Regions from separate parts of the Homo sapiens genome. Here regions 1, 3, 4 and 5 are each linked to region 2. The links are contacts of gene promoters, found by promoter capture Hi-C in blood cells and fetal thymus (Javierre and others, 2016). All regions are on one chromosome and are shown on one strand. The core of a region is centred on a gene start or on the middle of the fragment in contact, and the rest is flanking DNA. Distances in the headings are between cores, read along the strand shown.

Evidence for each region. The method cuts DNA at HindIII sites, captures the fragments that hold promoters and counts their contacts. A CHiCAGO score of 5 or more calls a contact.
Region 1: a contact is called between a fragment that was not itself captured here and the fragment with the promoter of ANKRD63 in region 2, in 7 of 17 cell types (M0 macrophages, activated CD4 T cells, naive B cells and 4 more). The highest score is 10.9, in M0 macrophages.
Region 3: a fragment that was not itself captured here is called in contact with the fragment with the promoter of ANKRD63 in region 2 in 2 of 17 cell types (M0 macrophages and naive B cells); the score reaches 5.6 in M0 macrophages.
Region 4: a contact is called between a fragment that was not itself captured here and the fragment with the promoter of ANKRD63 in region 2, in 16 of 17 cell types (activated CD4 T cells, naive CD8 T cells, total CD8 T cells and 13 more). The highest score is 69.9, in activated CD4 T cells.
Region 5: a fragment that was not itself captured here is called in contact with the fragment with the promoter of ANKRD63 in region 2 in 4 of 17 cell types (M0 macrophages, total CD4 T cells, activated CD4 T cells and 1 more); the score reaches 6.5 in M0 macrophages.

What each region holds. Positions count from the first base shown.
Region 1 is chr15:40,100,135-40,104,291 of GRCh38, forward strand. BMF (Bcl2 modifying factor) reads right to left here. Exons shown (of 5, transcript NM_001003940.2): 4 at 4,046-4,157. Among named protein-coding and RNA genes, the nearest start is that of BMF, 6.7 kb to the right of the region's middle. RefSeq lists enhancers at 3,103-3,667, 3,668-4,157. The HindIII fragment of the contact is 2,587 bases long and covers 1,502-4,088 here.
Region 2 is chr15:40,281,065-40,285,224 of GRCh38, forward strand. ANKRD63 (ankyrin repeat domain 63) reads right to left here and starts at 2,000. Exons shown (of 1, transcript NM_001190479.3): 1 at 1-2,000. The coding sequence starts at 1,522. The coding sequence ends at 380. It also overlaps a transcript of PLCB2 not described here. RefSeq lists silencers at 1,482-1,751, 1,762-1,821, 1,892-1,961. The HindIII fragment of the contact is 15,046 bases long and covers 1-4,160 here.
Region 3 is chr15:40,140,042-40,144,369 of GRCh38, forward strand. No RefSeq gene overlaps it. Among named protein-coding and RNA genes, the nearest start is that of BUB1B, 19 kb to the right of the region's middle. The HindIII fragment of the contact is 311 bases long and covers 2,733-3,043 here.
Region 4 is chr15:40,043,827-40,048,321 of GRCh38, forward strand. SRP14-DT (SRP14 divergent transcript) reads left to right here. Exons shown (of 3, transcript NR_040060.1): 2 at 2,135-2,243. Among named protein-coding and RNA genes, the nearest start is that of SRP14-DT, 6.8 kb to the left of the region's middle. RefSeq lists enhancers at 3,548-3,677, 4,018-4,147. The HindIII fragment of the contact is 1,104 bases long and covers 2,274-3,377 here.
Region 5 is chr15:40,430,618-40,434,865 of GRCh38, forward strand. It overlaps a transcript of IVD not described here. Among named protein-coding and RNA genes, the nearest start is that of BAHD1, 8.2 kb to the right of the region's middle. The HindIII fragment of the contact is 2,091 bases long and covers 430-2,520 here.

The sequences.
Region 1 (4,157 bases), core at 1,545-4,044, 180 kb before region 2:
ACATTGCCCAGAAATACCCCCAAATGTCATGATGGGCCACTGGGACAGAAGACTCTCCCAAGGGGAGGGGATACCACTTCCTGCCCCTCCTTAGGCTCGTGCTGAATGAGGCCATGGCACAAGGACAGGAAAGCTGGGGCTCAGACCTTCTGGCCAGGGCAGCCCAGGGGCTCAGGGAGGAAGTACATCTGCACCATGCTCTTCCATGCAGAAGCTGGACACAGAAGCACCACAGCACCACCCTCAAGATAAGTCATTATCAGCAGACCATCGGGGGTCCCTGCCACAGTTTGTCAGCTCACAGAGGAGCAAACAGGGGAACCTTCACTCCTGCCCCGGCCAAAGGAAGGTGGGATGTGTGGTGAGGTTCTGAAAGGTTTTTACCTCCACTCACTCTGCCTCCAACTCTCTTGCTGCTTTGGAGACACAAAGAGCTGAGGCGGAGCACCCTGCTAACTCTGATCTTCTGCCTCCGGTTTTTTGCCTGTGGATCTGGAAGAGTCACCCTGAACTGGTAACTCGGGTGACCAGGCTAGTCCTCCACCTAGCAAGGCTCTTGGGAAATGCGCTGAAAGTGCAGATGGCCCACGTAAAACGACACCCAGGGAAACTTGGAACCTGTTGCATCTGGAGCCAGGTCGATACACTCAATTGGGATTTCATGGCATCAGCACGCCCCCTCCCTCTGCTCCATACCTCCAAGGGAGAAGGTCGTTCTGGTGCAAAAAAACGAGTAACTCAGGTCTGTAACCAGGGACAAAAAGGGGGAGTGCACACTCTCCACAGGACTATGGACCAGTGGCCACTGTCTAGCCCCAGGACACTATCCCAGATGTAGGGGAAAGGTGACGGTCAGGCCTCCTCAAGTCCCATCTGCCTCTAGGGTTGCTTTTCTTGGCTCTCTAAATCCAGCCCGCAATGATGGGGAATGACTATCATTCCCTGAAGAGAAATCGATAAGGCCAAGGTCCACAGATGATCAGTCTGGACACTAATTCCTCTGGACCAGGCAGGTGGAGGGAAGTTCAGGGGAGGCAGCTCTGCTCAGGGAGTCCCCTGCCAGGTGGAGTGGGAAATGAATTGTGAACCAACAAGAACAAACGTCGGGGGTGATCAGGATCATAAACAGAAAGAAGGAAACAGGCATTAAAGAACATCTACTGTGTGTCCCAAACTCTCATAGGTATTTTCTCACTTAATTATCACAGTAAAATTCTGTGGTATTAGCACTAATTCATAGAAGAGGAAATAGGCTCAGTGAAGTCAAGTGACTTCCTGAAAACTAGTAGATGGCAGAGCTGGTATTCAAACCTGGGCTTTCTGACTCTGAACCCAAAGCCTAGAAACTAAATCCTAAATAACCTCCTTCCCACTGCCTCAGTTTCTCTGCCTGCAAAAATGAGGGAAGGGAATAGGGAAAGAAGATAAAGGATAAGAATGGAGGAGTGACAACAGTACTTTCTAGATATGAAATCTTAGACTGTAGTTTATATAAGAATCAAGCTTAGAAAATGACTCACTTCTCAAAACCAGCTGCTGAAACGTTCCAGGAGTACCAGTGTTCCACCTGCCTGAAGCCATCACCTTAGCCCTTCCTGCAGGATGAGTTCCTGGTGAAGGTCTATAAGTAGGGTCAGTGGGGAGGAGGGGGTTAAAAGCAAGAAGACTCTGGGGAGAACTGTTTAAGGAGAAGACAAAACCCTGGCTCTTTGTACTGGAAAATTTGGGAAAACCAGCTCTTTGAGCTAGAAAAGGCTCACTGGTCAGCCTCCTACCCTTGTAAGTAAGAAGTAGGTAGATGGCAGGAGGGTAGGGGTACAGGAAACCTGGGAGCCAGTGTGGAGTAAGGTGCAAGGCAGAGGAGACTCTCATGCCTTGCACCTCCACTTTCCTTCTCCCCAGCTTGGGTGGCTCTGGCTAAAAGCACAACACCTTGTCTAAAACTAACCTGTGCATGCAAAGAGGCAGCTCTGAACTGGGAGAAGTGATGCCAACCAGCAAAAAGCAGGGCAAGGCAGGCGCAGTGGCTCACGCCTGTAGTCCCAGCACTTTGGGAGGCCGAGGCAGGTGGATCATCTGAGGTCAGGAGTTCGAGACCAGCCTGGCTGACATGGCGAAACCCCGTCTCCACTAAAAGTACAAAAATTAGCCAGGTGTGGTGGTGCGTGCCTATAATCCCAGCTACTCGGGAGGCTGAGGCAGGAGAATCGCTTGAACTGGGGAGGCAGAGGTTGCAGTGAGCCGAGATCATGCCACTGCACTCCAGCCTGGGCGAAAGAGCCAAAAAAAAAAAAAAAAAAAAAAATCAGGGCCAGACCTTGGGATAAGGGCCTCCTCCTCCTCCTGTTCAGGACCAAGTTAGGAGGGCCCCCAGGACTGTATCCTAGTCCTGTGCCAGGGAGGGCTCCCGGCCTATTCCCAAGCCTATAGAGGCTCACCAGTGGATGGGGGAATATTCTGGGGAATAACTGGTGAAAGAGATCAGATTATTGCAAATGAAGCAAGCTGCCTTCCACGGAGCCCGCTAGATGAGTCTAAAAGAGCCACAGCCACTGTGTCCTCCCATCCTCTCCAGTACCAGGACTGGAAGCTGTGAGCTGGGCTCAGCCGTAGGCCTGTACAACCACGGTGGAGTGAATGGGCAGGAAGGAGGCCAAGAAACTGAAAACAAGAATCAGAGTGAGTCCACACATGGACTGAAGGGGAAACTCGAAGCCAAGTTTCCACCAAATAATCAAAGGAGAGAGTAAGAACTGGAGCTTAGATCTATTATCTAAGCATAGGGCCACCCTCCCTTCCTGATCACTAAGGGACTGGGAGGACTTACCAGGCCCAGACCTGGCCCCAAACTGTCCTTAGAACTCCTTGGCAGAGGGCACTAACCATATGTAACCCGCAATGTCCTGTTCTTAGGAAAGCCAAGGTCAATTCCTCTTCCCCTGGCACTGGTAATGGTTTGACCCTTAAGTCAACCTACCAATAGCTCTCCTCCGACCACCTGAAGCTACCCTTCTAACCTCGGAGTCTGCCCAGTCATGGTCAAGCTATTTATTCCCTTGATTTCCTCGCAGTCAGACACACAAACACACATTCAGAGCCAGCTGGGCTGGGGACACAGTCCCAGAAGTACAGAATGTGTTCGCTTCCAGGTGGCATGCCTGTGCTTCAGCTGTGGCTGTACCAGCACGGATGCAGCCTCAGGCTCCTCTCCCAGCCTTGGCAGCCATCCAGAAAGCCAGCCCGAAGAGGAAGGGTTAAGTGCCTGGGGACCCAGCCCAGACAGCGGCTGCTGGAACAGGGAAGGCAGCCTCCAGGCCATGGCACAGAGGGCTCCTCCAGCACGAGCCTGCCAGCCGCCGCCTTTGTTGATGGACTCTGCCACATGCTCGGCTGACACGTGATGCCCCGCCCTGGCGGGGCTGGTGCCAGGCTGCCGGCCAAGCGCCCGGCTGAGCGCCCGGCTGGCCGCCGGTCTGGGGAGCCTCTCCGAGGTACACTCTCCGGAGTCCCAGACCCTGGTTCCCAGACAGAGACAGTGAGGAGCGGCCTCCCCAGCTGGAAAGTGTCAGGTTTCAACCGGTTCCACCACTTTCCCCAACTCAGGCCCCATCCCTTGGCCTGGTTACCCGTTTCCCACTGTACCTTAGCCAGGCACCCCCCAACTGCCCAGTTTCATTGCAGCACCCGGAAAATCTTCCTCTTAGGTCCGTGAGGGGCAACCCCTCAGCCACGGCCATAAGAAGAGACAGGTTGTCAAGCAGAGCTGCAGAAAGCCATCCTATTCCCAGACTGTAGCCTCTCCCGAGAGGGCTCTTATGGAACATGAATTGAGACTGGGCAGTTAACCAATGTGGAGCTCAGAGATGAGGGCAAGATGCTTAGCCAGTTAGGCCCCTCCTGCCCATGGGAACCGCCATAACCAAAACTCTGGGACAATATCCTTGAGGTCTGGCAGAGACAGAGTTGCTGACAAGAGGAGAGAGGCAGGCCCTGGCCCCCAAGCCCCAGCAGACTCAACCCTCCTCCCCTAAACCCCCGTGCCTACTTGCTGCACATGAAGCCGGTGGAACTGGTCTGCAATGCACTGAAGCTTTCGGGCAATCTGTACCTCTGCTTGATGTTGCCACTGCCCTTCGGGGGGCTGCTCCCCAATGGGC
Region 2 (4,160 bases), core at 750-3,249:
TTCTATTTACCTGGCTGCCCAGTTGTTGGGAAACCCAGCGAGGGGAGGGGGGCCGGACAGGAGCGACAGATGGCTAGGCCGACCCAGGATTGAGCCTGAGGGCTGGGGAGGGGGAATCCACCTTCCTGGCTGTAGCCTACGGAACCAGTCAATCGACACCTCTAGACCTAGGCAGGGAATACCGAGGAGCACAAAAAAGAAGATGGAGGTCCCTTATTTCTGGTGGAGGGCTGGTGGAGGTCTCGCCTTGGCAGGGAGGCAGGTTCCAAAATGGACTGCGGGGGGCGGCTGCCGAAAAGGTGAGGGACCTAGAAGAGAGAAATACCAGTGGAGTAGAAACGGGAGGGTAGGGGAAGCAGGCCTCGGGCCTTGGCGCCGTTTACCGCTGAGCACGCAGCACCACAGCCTCGGTGCCCGCCTGCCAAGGGTTCGGCCCAGGCACCGAGACAGACAGAGCGTTGGCCTCTAACTCCGGGCCACTCTCGGGCCCTGGCGCCTCCCCGACCAGGCTGGGGATATCTGGGGCTGTGGAGCGTCGGCGCAAACCCAGGCGGCCAGAGCCGGGGCCGCCCTCCGGGTGGGGACTGAGGCCAATGGGGGCTTGCGCTAAGGTTGGGGGCGCTCCCTCCAGCACCTCCTGTGAGCGCCACCGCCCAGTCCCCGAAGACTGGGGCGAGTTTGGTAGGGCCATCAGGGCCCCAGCCCGCAGGCGGGCAGCCTCCTCCTCGGTTACCGCACCTAGAGCCAGGCTCATGCTCCGACCCAGCTCGGGCCGTTCGCTGCCCTGCGCCCGGTGCCGGCCCGAATTCTTGCCCGCTGAGCCAGCCTCGCCGCCGTGGCCGCCCGCCGCTCGCGCAAAGCGCGCCAGGAGAGGCCGCGGGAGGCGGCGGGGGCTGGGTCGTCGATGCTCGGGGCTGGCCGCGGGGGCCGGGCGGCCAGGGGGACTATCGGAGTTGGAGCCCCGGGCCGCAGCGGCGGCGGCGGCGCGGCCCCAGGGCCCGGTGAGGGCCTGCACACAGGTCCCGTGGCCGCGGGCGGCGGCCAGTTGCAGCGCGGTGAGCCCCGCACGGTTGGTGCGGTCGAGGCGCAGGCCTAGGCGGCGGAAGGACCGCACCAGGAACTCGAGCACCGCCCCGTGGCCGCAGGCCGCCGCCCACATCACCGGGCTGTTGCCCGCAGAGTCGGCCGCCTCGGGGTCACCGCTGAACTGCACCAGCAGCTGCACGGCGTCCAGGTGGCCTCGCTCGCACGCCAGGCTGAGTGCGGTGCGGCCGCGCTCGTCTCGCAGGTTCACTGCAGCACCCTGCTCGAGCAGCAGCCGCACGAAGCGCGCGCGCAGCGCGGGGTCCGGCAGCCCCACGGCCACCATGAGCGGCGTACGGCCCTGCTCCGCGCGGCAGTCGATGATGCTGCGGTCCAGCGCATCCAACACGAAGCGGGCCAAGTGCACTTTGCCCGCCTGCATGGCCTCCAGGAAGGTGCGCGTCCCCGCTCGGGGGCACAGGTCCTTGGGTTTGAGCATGGCCCCGGCCGCCGCGCCCGGGCAGCCTGGCAGTTCCGCACGGGGGCGCCCCTGTTCTCGCGCCCCGCGGGGCTCCGGCCTCCGCCCGCGCTCTGATACCTCTCCCTCCGCGCGTGGGCGGCTGCAGCCGAGGGTCCCGAGGTTCCTACTCCGCTGTCCCGGAGGCTCCGACTGCCCCGCCGCTCCTGGGCCGCACGCCTGGCGTGTCGCCGCTCCTTCCCCGGGCCTCCCGCCTGGAGGTGTTGATTGCTCGCTACTCCGGGCTCCGCTCCTGGCCCGCCACCAGACGTCGGGAGCAGAGACTCGACCCTCTCCCGAGTCTCTCGCCGCTTTCCCGGTGTCCGGCGCCCCTCAGTCCTCGTGGTTTGGAGCCGCCGTGCCACTCACCCGCACCCAGGGCAGCCCCCGCTCCCCCGCAGCGACGGTGGCGCCCGCCGTGCACGCCTGCCTCCAGCCCTGGCGGGGCGCGCCGCTCCTCAAGCTGCTGGCGCCGTTCCTCCGCCTCCTCCCCTCTCGCGGGGGCCGGGCCACGCCAGGGCGCTTGCTCCTTACTTGGGGGGCTCAGCGGCGCGGGAGCTGCCGCCCGCCTAGATACCTGACTTTATAGCCTTGGGGGTCTCCATGGCAATGGCTGTCCTGGGAGCGGACTGCGCCGTCAGGGCAGAGACGGACGGGGCGGGGGAGACCGCTCCTGACCCCCACCCCTTCGTGGGCCACGAAGTAGGGGAGCGGTTCCTCCTCCGCGCTCCCCTGGGAATGCGGCGGCGGTTGCGGGGCGGGGGCGGGGGCTGCTCGCCGGGGGCCACATGCACCCAACCGGGCCAATCCCAAAGTCGCAGTCTTCTCTCCCCGCCCTCCGCCCCCAACCGAGTCGGTGCCCTCGGCTCCTTAGAAACTGGCGGGACCTCGGCCTCGTCGGGGAAGACTGAAAGCTGCCCCCATCGGTCCAGGGTGAAAGGAATTGGGACCCCATGAGCGCAGAACTGGACCACGCGCGAGCTAGGGGTGGCAGCGAAAGGCGGATGAGGAGTAATTTGGGGGAGGGGGTATACGTGCCGCGGATTGGGGGCGCTCAGCCTGGCTGGGAACTGCCACTCGAAGTGCAGAGAATCACGCACTCACACACAATTGTTCCACCCGCACACGCTCCCTGGGAACGAGGGGTGGGGTCCGAGTGCGCTCTCCAATTTCAGACGTCTCCAACCCCGACAACGCGCCCGCGTGCCAGCTCCTGGTGGCTGCCTAGCGGGCAGAGTGTAGACGCCCAGACCAGGGAGGGGCTCCTTAGGACCCGGGAGTGCCGCGGACATGTTAAAAGTTCCCTGGCGCCGCCACCCTGGAAAGAGCTAGGGACCCACTCGAGGTTCCCTGCCCCTCGCTTCTCCCTTGAGCACAAAACAACCCCCAGGCCACAGGGCTCTGGCTCTGACCACTGGCTGACCCCTAAAGAGAGGAGGCGAGCACAAGTTCCATTTTCCGTAAGATGCTTGGAGAAACCACTGCATCTCCTCTCCCTCCGGCCAGCAGGTCCCCCTCGGTCCTGGAGGAGGGGGGATGATACACAGGCCTGGGCGGAGCAGAGTTAGGGCGCCTCAGAGCCTGGGTGTGGGTGGTGGGGAGGGTGTGAGTAGGGTTGGAATGGATATTTGTAAAGTAAGGAGTAAAGCAGTTATCAGCTGCAGAATTTACTGAGACTTTTCATGAGCCGCACATTTTGTTGCCGGCAGCGGGTAAGAGAGAGACAGAATCTCGGTTCTGGGTGCGAGACGTTCCACCTCTTAAGAAGACAACACTGGGACTTAAAAAATGGACGTTGTCACCTGAGGGCTGAATTCTTCTGCTAAATACGTACCAACACAGTCCTTGGATGAAAAGATGGAGTTGTGGGCAGGAGAGGGCTCTCGGGCCTTTTAAAGATAGGCCTTCAAGGATGTGCGGGATCTGGCTGCAAAAGAAAGAAGGAAGGAATCCCAGGCCGGGTGCAGTGGCTCACGCCTGTAATCCCAGCACTTTGGGAGGCCGAGGCGGGCGGATCACGAGATCAAGGGATCGAGACCATCCTGGCCAACATGGTGAAACCCCGTCTCTACTAAAAATACAAAAATTAGCTGGGCGCGGTGGCACGCGCCTGTAGTCCCTGCTACTTGGGAGGCTGACGCAGGAGAATTGCTTGAACCTGGGAGGCAGAGGTTGCAGTGAGCCGAGATCACGCCACTGCACTCCAGCCTGGAGACAGAGTGAGACTCCGTCAAAAAAAAAAAAAAAAAAAAAAAAAAAAGGAAGTAATTCCAGACGGGTTCTGGAGGCAAAGGCTTGGAAGCAGGATAAACCTTCAGGGGACACTATTGAGGGCTGCTTTAAGGGGTCCCTTCCTATCAGAGACAGGAAATAAGGGAAGAATGATGGTGTTCTCAGTCTGAGCAGATGCTTTGGAGTAGGAGATGCCTGGGGAAAGGTACTGGGCATAGATAGGCGTGGCAAAGTGGGCTCATGGCCCTGCACCCTGAACCCCTTGCCTCTCTCCAGCTCCCAGGCTCCGGGGATGTCCACCTTGAATTTGGCACCCAGGCCATGGAGCAGAGGCTCCCACTCCCCTCTGTCACGTGAGGAGCGTGTGATGTGTACCTGCATCCACTAC
Region 3 (4,328 bases), core at 1,638-4,137, 140 kb before region 2:
GGATTTTTGCATCAAGGTTCATCAAGGATATTGGCCTAAAATTCCCTTTTTTTGTTGTGTCTCTGCCAGGCTTTGGTATCAGGATGATGCTGGCCTCATAAAATGAGTTAGGGAGGATTCCCTCTTTTTCTATTGATTGGAATAGTTTCAGAAGGAGACATTTATGCAGCCAAAAAACACATGAAAAAATGCTCATCATCACTGGCCATCAGAGAAATGCAAATCAAAACCACAGTGAGATACCATCTCACACCAGTTAGAATGGCGATCATTAAAAAGTCAGGAAACAACAGATGCTGGAGAGGATGTGGAGAAATAGGAACACTTTTACACTGTTGGTGGGACTGTAAACTCGTTCAACCATTGTGGAAGTCAGTGTGGCGATTCCTCAGGGATCTAGAACTAGAAATTCCATTTGACCCAGCCATCCCATGACTGGATATATACCCAAAGGATTATGAATCATGCTACTATAAAGACACGTGCACACGTATGTTTATTGTGGCACTATTCACAATAGCAAAGACTTGGAACCAACCCAAATGTCCAACAACGATAGACTGGATTAAGAAAATGTGGCACATATACACCATGGAATACTACGCAGCCATAAAAAAGGATGAGTTCATGTCCTTTGTAGGGACATGGATGAAGCTGGAAACCATCATTCTCAGCAAACTATCGCATGGACAAAAAACGAAACACTTCATGTTCTCACTCATAGGTGTGAATTGAACAATGAGAACACATGGACATAGGAAGGGGAACATCACACGCTGGGGACTTTTGTCGGGTGGGGGGGAGCGGGGAGGGATAGCATTAGGAGATATATCTAATGCTAAATGACGAGTTAATGGGTGCAGCACACCAAAATGGCACATGTATACATATGTAACAAACCTGCACGTTGTGCACATGTACCCTAAAACTTAAAGTATAATAATAATAAATAAATAAATACATAAATAAATAAAAATTTAAAAATTAAAAATAAAATAAAATAAAATAAGAGTACTTCCCACTGGCCTTGCGCGGTGGCTCACGCCTGTAATCCCAGCACTTTGGGAGGCTGAGGCAGGCGGATCACGAGGTCAGGAGATCGAGACCATCCTGGCTAATACGGTGAAACCCCGTCTCTACTAAAAATACAAAAAATTCGCCAGGCGTGGTGGTGGGCGCCTGTAGTCCCAGCTACTCGGGAGGCTGAGGCAGGAGAATGGCGTGAACCCAGGAGGCAGAGCTTGCAGTGAGCTGAGATCGCACCACTGCACTCCAGCCTGGGCGACAGAGCGAGACTCCGTCTCAAAAAAACAAAAAAGAAAGAGTACTTCCCACAAACCTACTTGCTGTGGTTTGAATGTTTCTCCAAAGCTCACGAAATTCAGTTGCCATTGTAACAGTCTTACGAGGTAGGACCTTTAAGAGGTGATTAGGCCATGGGGGTTCCAACCTCATGGGTAGAACTGGTGCCATTATAAAAGGGCAAGTTTGACCCACTCTTGCTTTCTCTTGCCCCTCCGCCTTCCTCCATATAATGATGCAGCAAGAAGGCCCTTGCCAAGTGCCAGCGCCTTCATCTTAGACTTCCCAGACTCCAGAACTGTCAGAAAGTTAACTTTGGTTCTTCATCAGTGACCCAGTCTGTGGTACTTTATTATAGCAGCACAAATGGTCCAAGATATTGACTCTCCTCAGTCTTTCCATCTGAGTAAGAAAACTCCATCCTTCTGCTTGTTCAGACCACAACTTTAGAGTCATCCTCTTCTTTCCCTATACTTTACATATCATCTGTCAATAAACGCTGCTGTCTCTGCCTTCAAAATGTACTCAGACTCACCACTCCACCATGGCCACACCAATCTAAGCTACCACCATCCCTTCCCTGGATTGTTGCAATAACTGATCCCTCTATTGCTTCCCTTGCCTCTTACAGACTATTTTCATCCCGGCAGCCACAGTGCTCCTGTTAAAACCCATACAAGACCCTGTCATTCTTCTGCTCAAAAGCCATCACTTCCCATCTTATGCAAAGTAAAAGCCAATCTTTCCAGTGGCCTGTGAGATTGAGCATGAACTGACTCCTGGTCACCTCTCCAGCTTCATCTCTTCTTCCTGTTTTCACTCATTCTGCTCCAGACACATTGACCTCCTTACTGCTCCTCTAACATCTGGGAGAGCTCCGCTTCTGGTTAGGATGTAGAAATATATGAAAAGCCTTTGCTACAATGCTATCAACAAGAAAAACCTAGACAAAAATAAAAATCGTGCTTTTCTACTGAGCAGTGCAGGCATGGCCTTGATGAGTTGAATTCCACAAAGAAACAAGCCCTTTATAGATGAGCAGAAGGTCAGCACAGCTTTCACACCTGAGGATGTGCCTGGTCTGGCTACAGGTGGATGGAGAAACATGCCATAGGCAGGGGTTTTGTAAGGATAAGAAGAAATCAGCGAGCTGCGGCATGGGCTGGCAAGACAGATGACAATCTGGAAGAGGCCCAATATAAAAGCAGGTCATTTAGGCCGATAATTCTCTGTTCTCCACCCACCCCCATTCCTGAACTTTGCCACAACTGTGGCACTGGAGAAGGGGCTGGAAAGCAGAGAGTAATGACACGGTCCTGCTTAGATTCTGGGGCCCTGCTGGAGTAGAGTCCAAAGTTGAATCAAAATGATCTGAATCTGTACGCTACCCCCACCCAGCTCAATTACTGACAACTTGAAAAGGAGGCAGAAGCTTGGGATTGGGCTACTTACAGGTGAACACAATCTAATTAAAGCTGCAGTGCAGCCTTACCTCAATTCCACTGTCCGAGGAGTCCCAGTGATCAGCTTCAACCTAACCACCAGACAGGGGAAAGGAACTGCAATTTCTGAGAAGTAAACAAAAAGATATATTTTCATTTCTACTGTTCTTTTATACAAAATTTCTGGAATACAGTTTTGAGAAACAGGAGAGTAAGGAAAAGAAGCATGTGATCCATAATCAAGAGAAAATAGAGAAGCAGATCCACACATGATCCAGTTATTGGAGTTAGCAGACAAAAGCTTTAAAACGATTAATATGAATATGTTAAAGTTCACAGGAAAAGATAGCTATGATGGTTGAAGAGAGGGTTATTTTAGTAAAGAAATGTAAACTCTAAAAAAGAACCAAATGGAAATTCTACAACTAAATATATATATATATATGAACTAAATATATATATATATATATATATATATATATATATATATAAAATTCATTGGATGAGCTTAATAGCAAATTGGACACCACAGAAAAAGCATCAATGAACTTAAAGACAAGCCAATCAAAAGTATCCAAACTGATAAAAAGAGAGAAAAAAATTAATGACCACAGTACAGTGACCTGTGGGATAACAGCAGCTGTCCTAAGATTTGTGTAATTGCAGTCTCAGAAAGAGAACAAATAGCACCAATTGTTTTTCTACAGGAAGAAATAATAGTGAAAAATTTAAAATGTAACAAAAAGGATCAACCTACAGATTTAAACTAATTTTTTTTTTTTTTTTGAGACAGAGTCTCACTCTGTCAGCCAGGCTGGAGTGCAGTGGCGCAATCTCAGTTCAATGCAACCTCCACCTCCCATGTTCAAGCGATTCTCCTGTCTGAGCCTCCCAAGTAGCTGGGACTACAGGTGTGCGCCACCATGTCCAGCTAATTTTTGTATCTCTAGTAGAGACGGGGTTTCACCACGTTGGCAAGGCTGGTCTCGAACTCCTGACCTCAAGTGATCTGCCCACCTTGGCCTCCCAAAGTGCTGGGATTACAGACATGAGCCACCGCACCTGGCAGACCTACAGATTTTAAAAGGTCGTCAAACCCCAAGTGGGGTAAATACAAAGAAAAACACATCTAGACACATCACAGTCAAGTTGTTGAACCAAAGATAAAATGAAAATCTTAAAAGCAGCCAGAGAAAAAAGGAACATTACAATGATAAAAATGATGCCTAACTTCTCTTTAAAAACAATGCAAACCAGAAGACAATAAAATGACATACATGAAAAGAAAACCAGAAAATATAGAATTCTCTGTCCAAGAAAAATAGCTTTCACAAATGAAACAGAAATAAAGATATGTTTAGATAAACAACAGCTAAGGGAAATAATTTTCAACAGACATGTACTTCAAGAAATACTAAAAAAGCTGGGTGCAATTGTAGTCCCAGCTACTGGGAAGGCTGTGGCAGGAGGATCACTTGAGCCTAGAAGTTCAAGATCAACTTGGGCAACGTAGGGAGACTCCATCACAAGAAACAAGCAAGCAAAAAAAAAAAAAAGAAAGAAAGAGAGAGAGAGAGAAAAGAA
Region 4 (4,495 bases), core at 1,576-4,075, 240 kb before region 2:
TCCATAGACAAGAATCCTCTGCATTGCCATTGAGTCTCTACAACCTACAGAGTTGTAAAATAGCGCAAAGGAAATAAAAGGCTAGAAATCAGCTAATCCAGAAGGCTGTGTTCTAATCAATGTATAATTTTTCATTGGAAACATCCACTATTTTTTATTTTGTTTTGTTTTTTGTTATTGTTGTTTTTGAGTTTATCTTTTTCTTTAATGTATTTGTTTCCACTAATCTTTTTTGCATATTCCAAAATTGCTTAAGTCTCTCTGTGCCTCAGTGTCCTCATCTGTAAAATGGGGAAGTCATAAAAGTGCCTACCTCATGTCAAGGGGAGGAGTAAATGAGCTAAGGGATGCATTATTACACTGCAGTCCCTTAGTTGGGAGTGGGCTGTTCTACGTCCTCCTCGTCAAGGTGGATTCATTCTACAGGAGCAGATTGCAACAAGACACTGTGCACCTTACGGAGGACTGGCCTCTGGGCTAGTTTAACTTTTCAGTTTCAGTCTGAGGGGAACTATACCTTGGGCTCTGAGCTGCCTCACCGTAGCTCCAGTGTGCTGATTTAAGGGTCAGTTCTGGATGAAGGAAGGAGGGTATCATCTAAACACATCGAGGAATGGCACTGGGCAGGTCTGGCTTTGGGATGACAAATTTTAGAACCTAAGGCTGGGAGACCTCCCACGTCAGCGGGAGGTGGTTAGCTCTGGTGGAGCCATCCTAGAGAAGGCCAGAGGAGTGGCCGGAGGGAGATGAGAGTGTGTCCTAGAAGCCTGGGTGCCCGGAGAGAGTAAACACCCTGAAGCCACACGTCAACACACTCCCTGGACTGAATCCACTCCAACACTGGCAGTTCCCAATTCCTTTATTCTTTTCTGCAGTCAGTTGGTCAACAAGTGTTCATTGTATCTGCTCAGCCAACTCAGGGCTCCAGGAACTCTCTCCATCCCCACCCCAGGATGAAGTCCTGGATTTAAATCCCAAGCCCCAGTGTCCTAGAGAGACAGCACAGGTGCCCTGGACTGTGAGTCAGAGACCCCAGGCTCACCCTGCTCCCCAACTTGCTGTGAGGCCCTGCACGAGGTACTTGCTTGCGCCCTATCCTCCACAGGGAACCTGCCTCAGAGGGTTGTTGTCGGCTTTCAAGGACATAATCCACGTAAAGGGCTCATAGTAAACACCCAGTTGATGTATTTTTTAAAGTATTTTCACTGTTATGTTCAGGACTTAGGCTAGATTGCTAATGTCACTTCTACTTCCAAAATTCTTAGAACTGCTGCTTTTCTCCCCCCAGCCCCTTCTGGGGGCCCTAGGGAAGTTTCCGGAGCCCACAAGTGTCAGTGATTAACACTGGCCTTCCCCTCGCTCGCAGCAACGCCACCACGCCCTCCCTCCACGCGCCATCGCAGAGATGAGGAGTGGCCTCGACCTGCCTGTGACTCGTCTTGGGCCAGTAGGGGACGCCCTGGCCTCACCAGACGAGCGCAGCCATGGGCGACCGCCTCAGCCACTCCCAGATCTTGCCCTGTCGTTTACCTTAGATCAACCCTAAGAATATCCAAGATCGTGGTCATTATTTTTCAAAATTACTTCTGTGGAGGCTAGAACTTTCCGTGTTACAGAAAGATTATCATTCATCCATTCACTGAACAAGGCTAAACAAGCAGTGTTTGGCACTGTTCTAGGTGCAAGAAGCTGACTGACTTCTCCACTAGAGAAGAGACTATTTTTTTCTCAGATAATAGCTTGCTTATATTTATTGAGAAGTTACTAAGTGCCAGGTTCATTTCTAGGTGCTTACATGTATCCACTTTTGAGCCCCCAATAGTCCTGTGAGGTGAGCGTTGTTCTAGCTGAGGAGCCTGCCACCTCTGTGCGAAGAAGCACTTGCAAATGAGTGTAGCCTGCGGGCAGCTCAGGAGTGCTGAGCTTTCAGCTGTCTTTCAGCTGTCCAAAGAGGTGACAAGAAGGGAGGGAAGGCAGAAAAGAGACCAGCTCTAGGCAGAGTGGAACAAACTGGGACTCTCTCTCCACTCCTCATCTTTCCCTCCCTCTGGGTGTGGGTTCCTATCCCAAGCCCCTGTCCCCCTCCCACTCCCATGCAGAATCCTGTCTCCTTAATCCTGTCTTTGGATTCCAGGTCCAACTTGGCATTTCTTGGCTGTATCTCTGAAGGAAAGTCATCTTAATCTCTATGAGCCTCCATTTCCTCAGCTGTAAAATGGGAAGATCTTCCTCACACTGCTGTGGTGAGTTCAGTGTGACAATGTGAATATAAAAGCTTATACGTGAGAAAGCATGGCAGAAAAGCTAGGTTTCATTGTTCTTTTCCTCTCCTTCTCAAGCAGTACCCTGAGTAGAAATATTCGGTCGTGCAAAACACCCCTCCCTCCCTCCCCATCAAAATCCCAGTCTCTCACTAAGCTCAGCTAGCTGTGTGGAGGCAACCCATCTGGTAGCTAAATCACACGAACATGTTCAGGACAAATGGTTAGTATGTCACACGCCCTCCATTTGTGGAGGAAACTTAGGTGATGTTAAACAAAGAACAGACTCTAATGGTGGGATTTCTGGTATAGGGGCTTTGGGGAGATACAAAGGAATTGCCAGTACCCTCTAGGCTACACTCCATGGGCAGCCCCTGGCCCCACATGCCTGGAAGGCCATCCTTGTACAGAATCAGGTGGTGGCACTCAAGAAATGTGTGTGAACTTTAAGAGGTTCTCCCCTTCTCATCTAGGATTTCCTTCCTTGCTGAACCTCAAGAAGGGGGCCAGCATACCCCATATTGTAAGAGGGGAAACTGAGGCCAGGAAAGGCAAGCATAGTTATTGCAAGCGTAGTTATTCCCAGCCAGGCTGGAAGTCTGGGGCATGAGCACCTATTCCTGCCCTCCTCCTCCCCACACTTTCATGGGTTTAGTGGGTGGGGGAGGGGCTCCCTTATTCAGGATGATTAGGGGTCCCCAATTTAAAGTTTCCTGTCTGAAAGTCAAGGACAGGAAATTATATAGCCAGAGTTCTGCACAAATTACCCAACAGGTGTCTCGACTCCCCAAAGCGACAGATGCTGTTCATCTCTTGGCCTCTGTGTCATCATTCATCCTTGATTGTTCGGGGAAGCCCACTCCACCTCTGTGACAGACCCACAGATGCAGATTTACACAGGGAATCCTAGACAGACACAATGAAGAAACTCCCATCTGATCAGAGCCAAGTCCCAGTAATAACATCAATGAATCATTGACTTCAGTGAGTCACAATATTGAGCTGGAAGAGGCCTCCAAGACCTTTTTAGTCCAACCCTTTACCTGCTAGTTATTCACAAGTGAATAGAAACTGAGTGAGGTCCAAAGAGGGAAAATGACTTGACCAAGATCACAAAGCTTGGTAATGCCAAAGGTGAGACTGGAAGCCCCGAGCCCTGAGCCCCAGGCCCATGCACTTTCCACACACCCCTCTGCCTGCCACAAACTAGCTGGCACAGAGAGCAGGAGGGAGGGCATAGGCCCCTCATGACTTAGCCAAGGGCAGCTCAGTGTCTCCATGCAGGTGGACTCCGTGTGTCAGCTTCAGCCCTCCCTTGGGAAGGGAAGGGCCTGGGGCCGTCCTCACACCCCAGGCGCCAGGCCACGGAGCTATAGGAGGCAGCTTCCTGCTTGGCCCTTATCCAAGGCCATTTCACAATGGGGGGAAAAGCGCTGAGCTGAGAGTCCCGGGTTGCTGCTCACTCCACCCCCACTCCAGCCCCTTTCAGACCCCCCAGGGACAACGAGCCAGGCCCGGCCTGAGGCTTGGGGTGAAGAGAGCTGCAAGAATGGAGACAGGCTGAACAGCCCCTTTTGGGAGTGTTCTATGAGCTGTGTCCCTGGAACTGGACGAGGGCACCACCTTGCATATTACCAGCACTATCCCCCTTCCCTTGCCGTCCACCTGCAAGCATTCAGGCTGGGGAAGTCCCTTCTGGGACAGGAGTGGTCGCTTCCAGTCAGCCCCATAGCACTCTCATGATTAGTCAGAGGGGAACCTGGAGGCAAGAAGGCCCACAAGCTGGGAGACGGCAAGGCCTGGGTCACTTCCTGCAGTGAGGCAACGTGACTACCAGGCAGAGGAGCCCAAATGTCTCCTCCCAAGATGCTACAGGGTCTGGGGTGAACTGTGGCTCAGCTGACTGAAATTCAGGCAGGAACCAAGACAGAGACACTGAGACGGGACATTCAGCCAGGATTTATTATGCCCTTACACACAGGGTCGGCTCTGAGCTCAGCTCTGTAAGGGATCTCGTTTGAAGTAGGAGGCAGTGGTTAAGGACCCAAATCATCCTGTCTTCAAGTCTTGAAGAGGAGACAAAACAAACCTAGGTGAAATGTCAAACCACAAGACAAGGCAGTGTGAAATGAGGGCCCACACTCTCATGCTGGACAGTCCAGTATGGCCAGTGAAGCGGGGGTGGGGAGGGAGTCACTGCAGACAAAGCTTCGGGGAAGAGATGGAACCGAGAA
Region 5 (4,248 bases), core at 225-2,724, 150 kb after region 2:
ACTCCAGTAAATGACAGGCTGTGGTGATGGATTAGCTATGGGTGGCGGCTTGGGAGGGAGAGGGAGGTGCCAAGGATGAGTCCAAGGTTCTTGACTCTTAAAACTGCCAGTGCACCCCACAGTGGAAACATTGGGAGAACACTGAGTTTGCTTGTAGTTGGAAGTTGGCTGAAGTGTATCTGATGTTCTTGAAAGACCATATTGATGTTTCAGTGTCAAAGAGAGTGCAGAAGGCAGGGAAAGGGTACTTTTGATAACGGCTTTGCCAAAGGAATATCTTTTTATAAAGAAATATGACAATCGACTTGCAACATTTTGCCCCCAATCTAACAGTGAGATGAATGTTGCTCACAGCAACTTCATGTGTAAAATTTGAATGAGTTGCTAACAGACATTTGGAAAACATAAGAGTAGAGAATTGTTTGGGGAAGCTTATTTAGGAAGAAGTGATGGAGAAATCATTAAAAGTGACAAGGCTGGGATGTAAACCCTGGCTCCACTATTATTACGCTTTTTTTTTTTTTGTCTTTTTTTTTCTTCCTTTTTGTGGAGAACGGGGTCTCGCTTTATTGCCCAGACAGGTCTCGAACTCCTGGGCTCAAGCTATCCTCCCACCTCTGCCTCCCTGAGACCTGGGATTACAGGTGTGAGCCACCGTGCCCAGCCGGCTCCACTATTATTAATGTGACCCTGGGAAGTTACCGAACCTCTCTATGCCTCAGTTTTCTCATTAGTAAAATGAGAATAATAACACTATCTATTTCATAAGACTGGCTGGGGATTAAGAGTATGTGTAGGCCGGGCGCAGTGGCTCACGCCTGTAATCCCAGCACTTTGGGAGGCCGAGGCAGGCAGATCACGAGGTCAGGAGACCGAGACCAGCCTGGCTAACATGGTGAAACCCCGTCTCTACTAAAAATACAAAAAATTAGCTGGGCACAGTGGCGGGCGCCTGTAGTCCCAGCTACTCGGGAGGCTGAGGCAGGAGAATGGTGTGAACTTGGAAGGCAGAGCTTGCAGTGAGCTGAGATCACGCCACTGCACTCCAGCCTGGGCTACAGAGCAAGACTCCATCTCAAAAAAAAAAAAAAGATTATGTGTAAAGAGCTTAACACAGTGCCTAACTCATGGAATCTCTCCAGGAACATTACCTATCACAGAATACACCCTGACAGAGGGAAGCAATGAAAAAGGCAATTGCTGATTTCCCATAATCCCTTTCAACAAAGAAGAGTTGTTGTCTATATAACTAAGTGTAATTTTTATAAATGCCCTTATTAGATTTTTAAATATAGTATAATATTCACAAATCAAGGGGAAAAATTGTCAGGCCTCTCATATCTAAGTCTTTTTTTTTTTTTTTTGAGATAGATTCTCACTCCATCACCCAGGTTGGAGTGCAATAGTTCCATCTTGGCTCACTGCAATCTCCACCCCCCAGGTTCAAGCGATTCTTATGCCTCAGCCTCCTGAGTAGCTGGAACTACAGATGCGTGTCACCACACCTGTAGAGACAGGGTTTTGCCACATTGGCCAGACTGGTCTTGAACTCCTGGCCTCAAGTGATCCGCCCACCTCGGCCCCCCAAAGTGCTGGAATTACAGGTGTGAGCCACTGCGCCTGGCCTATCATATCTAAGTCTTGATGTCACTTTTCCAGTTACTAATCATCTGGCCCAGTCTTGCTTAGGTCATACACTCTTTGATGTGCTCTTCAGTTTCTGAGGATCACGCCTCTGCTGGGTGGAGTAGCTTTCCTAGGTCAGAAGCAATGCTGTCTGCATGGCCTCCCAAGTCTTCTTGGTGCCTGCACAGTGCAGAGCACAGGTGGCACCATGGTTGGTTAACACCATACTTGTGGCCCAGACTGTAGTCCCCCCAGAGGGTGTCTGCTGGAAAGGGCTGGTCCTGGCTCTTGCTGTGGGTTCACTGAGGTTAAGTGAAGATGGCAAAAGAACCACAGGTGATTCTCTCCTCTGCTCTGGGTTTTGCAAGACTAGAGAGGTCAGTGGCTGTGGCTGAGAGCCTGTAGGAGATGGAACTACCTCACCTTGAGGAATGTGCTTAGGGATGCCACAGAGAATCTTTCCCGAAGAGGGAAATGGCTAGGGCCCTGGCCTTGGGAGGATGGAATGGAGAAGCCATGGGAAGAGGGGCTGGCCTCTCCTCCAAACCCAGCAAAGGGAGCCATCCTGCCTGACTGAAGCCAGAGTGGGGCCCACTGCTGGGTGGACAGAATACAGCCACAGGCACTACATTGTCAGAGCTCCAGATGGGAGACAAGGAGTACAAAACAGAGGTGGAAGACTGATTCCAGTATGGAAGCAGGGCAGGCTTCAGGCATGGCCAGATTTGGGCATGATGAAATAGATTCACAATTGCTAATGTTCTGGGGGCACTTGTGGCTACATCAGGTACTATTCTAAGTACTTTATATGTTTTAAGACACTGTAGCGCCAGGACTGTACTCAGAAAGTCTGCATTCTTAACCACTACGCTATGTGAAATGTAGAAAGAAGAAAGCTTTTAGACATATAAAGGGTTAGACCTCTATTTTATATGTTAAATGCCGTATGAAAAAAAAAGCAAAGGTTTTGGAGCCACTCCAAGCCTATGTGATCTTGGGCAGTTACTTAGATTCTCCAGGTCTCAGTTTCCTCATTTGTTTGTAAATTTGAGAGTACATTTACCTACCAGAGTTCTTGAGGGTTAAATAAAGAAACGTATGTTGAGTGCCTGTTCATGCCTTCTGTAAGAGACACCTGCCCCCTCTGGACCTCCTGCCGGCTTTGGAGGCTCTCAATACACTGCCCATTCCAGATCTGGATTTCTTCATCTTCCCAGGGGTCTGTACGTCTGGAATAAAGGAACCAACATAGTGGATGCACCCCTGGTCTTCCAGTCCACAGCACTGGGAGTTCCTCAGGGGAGAAGTCATACTCCAAGTTGATATCTGAGCGGACAAGTGTTCTGGTAACAGTAAAGGAGGTGACCCTGGAAGCTGAGGTCCCAAGCAACCCAAACCTAGATCATCACAGAAATGTCATGTTTCTTGGAATAATTCTCCCCTCTCTGTGTATTTATCCATTCAGTTTCTATTTACCAATTGTTTACTATTCAGTTCACCAAGCATTATTAGGCAACTACTATTTGCCAGGTATCATGCCATGTTCTCAGGAGTCACCTAGAAGAGCCCACAAACTCTGGACCATGTTTAATTTCCCTTTTCGTCTCCAGCCTGGGTCCATGGATCTTGGAGTGTGTTCAGTAAACATCTGCTCCTGGGGCAATAATGAAGGTACTATTAGAGATTGGCATGAGAATGCAACAGGGCTCTCTGAGTAGGTTCCAGTGAACTAGACACTGCAAAGGGCTGCACCACGATACCCATCCATGTCTCTGTGGCCACAGTGCAGGGCAAGGATCACACACCTGAAAACCTTCAGGGTTCAGGTCCCGTAAATGCCCCACATGGGCAAGGTGGGAGTATGGTAAACTGGAGCATGCCTACCCCATACAGACTGCATTTGCTACTTAGTACCAACCTACTGTTGCAAGTGAAAATGTGCGCCAGGGGTAGCAAATCTTCTGATTTTTTTCAAGAGAAACTGTAAACCTGGATTTTTATTTTGAATCTCCAAAAATTTCAGCATTGGCCCCTAATTTTAATCTTTTTTGAAAGCCCCATAGACAGTTAAATGGAACTTGTCTGCCTGCTTACTTTTGCTCAAAGGCTATTAGTTTGGGAGCCCTAAGTGTGCCTGTGAAAGGGGAGAGGTAGAGGGCTGTATGTCCTGGGGCCAGGTTATGAGAGACCTAGAATGCCATCCTTCCTTGGGGCCAGGACTGTGCTAGACACACAGGAAGCCATAAAGAGGATGTTAAAGCCATAGGCCTGCCCTCCAGGGGTTTATAATCTTATAAATAAAGACTTACGGGCAAAGCAGCAGATGGTCAGGAATGTGTGAGGAGGAGACAACTTGGAGTGCATAGAGTTCAGGGCAGCAGGGAGCAAGGTGGAATTGAGCTTCAGGAGAGTTTCACCTGAGCTTCGGGAGACCTTTCCAGGAAGTCAGGCTTGGACTGTGAGTATGAGGATTCTGGAGGACTCTGGGAGATCCATAAACAAATATGAATGGGCACGACCTATGCTGGAGACCCCAAAGAAAAGCCCCAGGGAATCTGCTTCCCGGTGTCATGGGAAGAGGCTCACAGGAAAGGGCAGGGCTATAGCATGAGGCTTCACTGA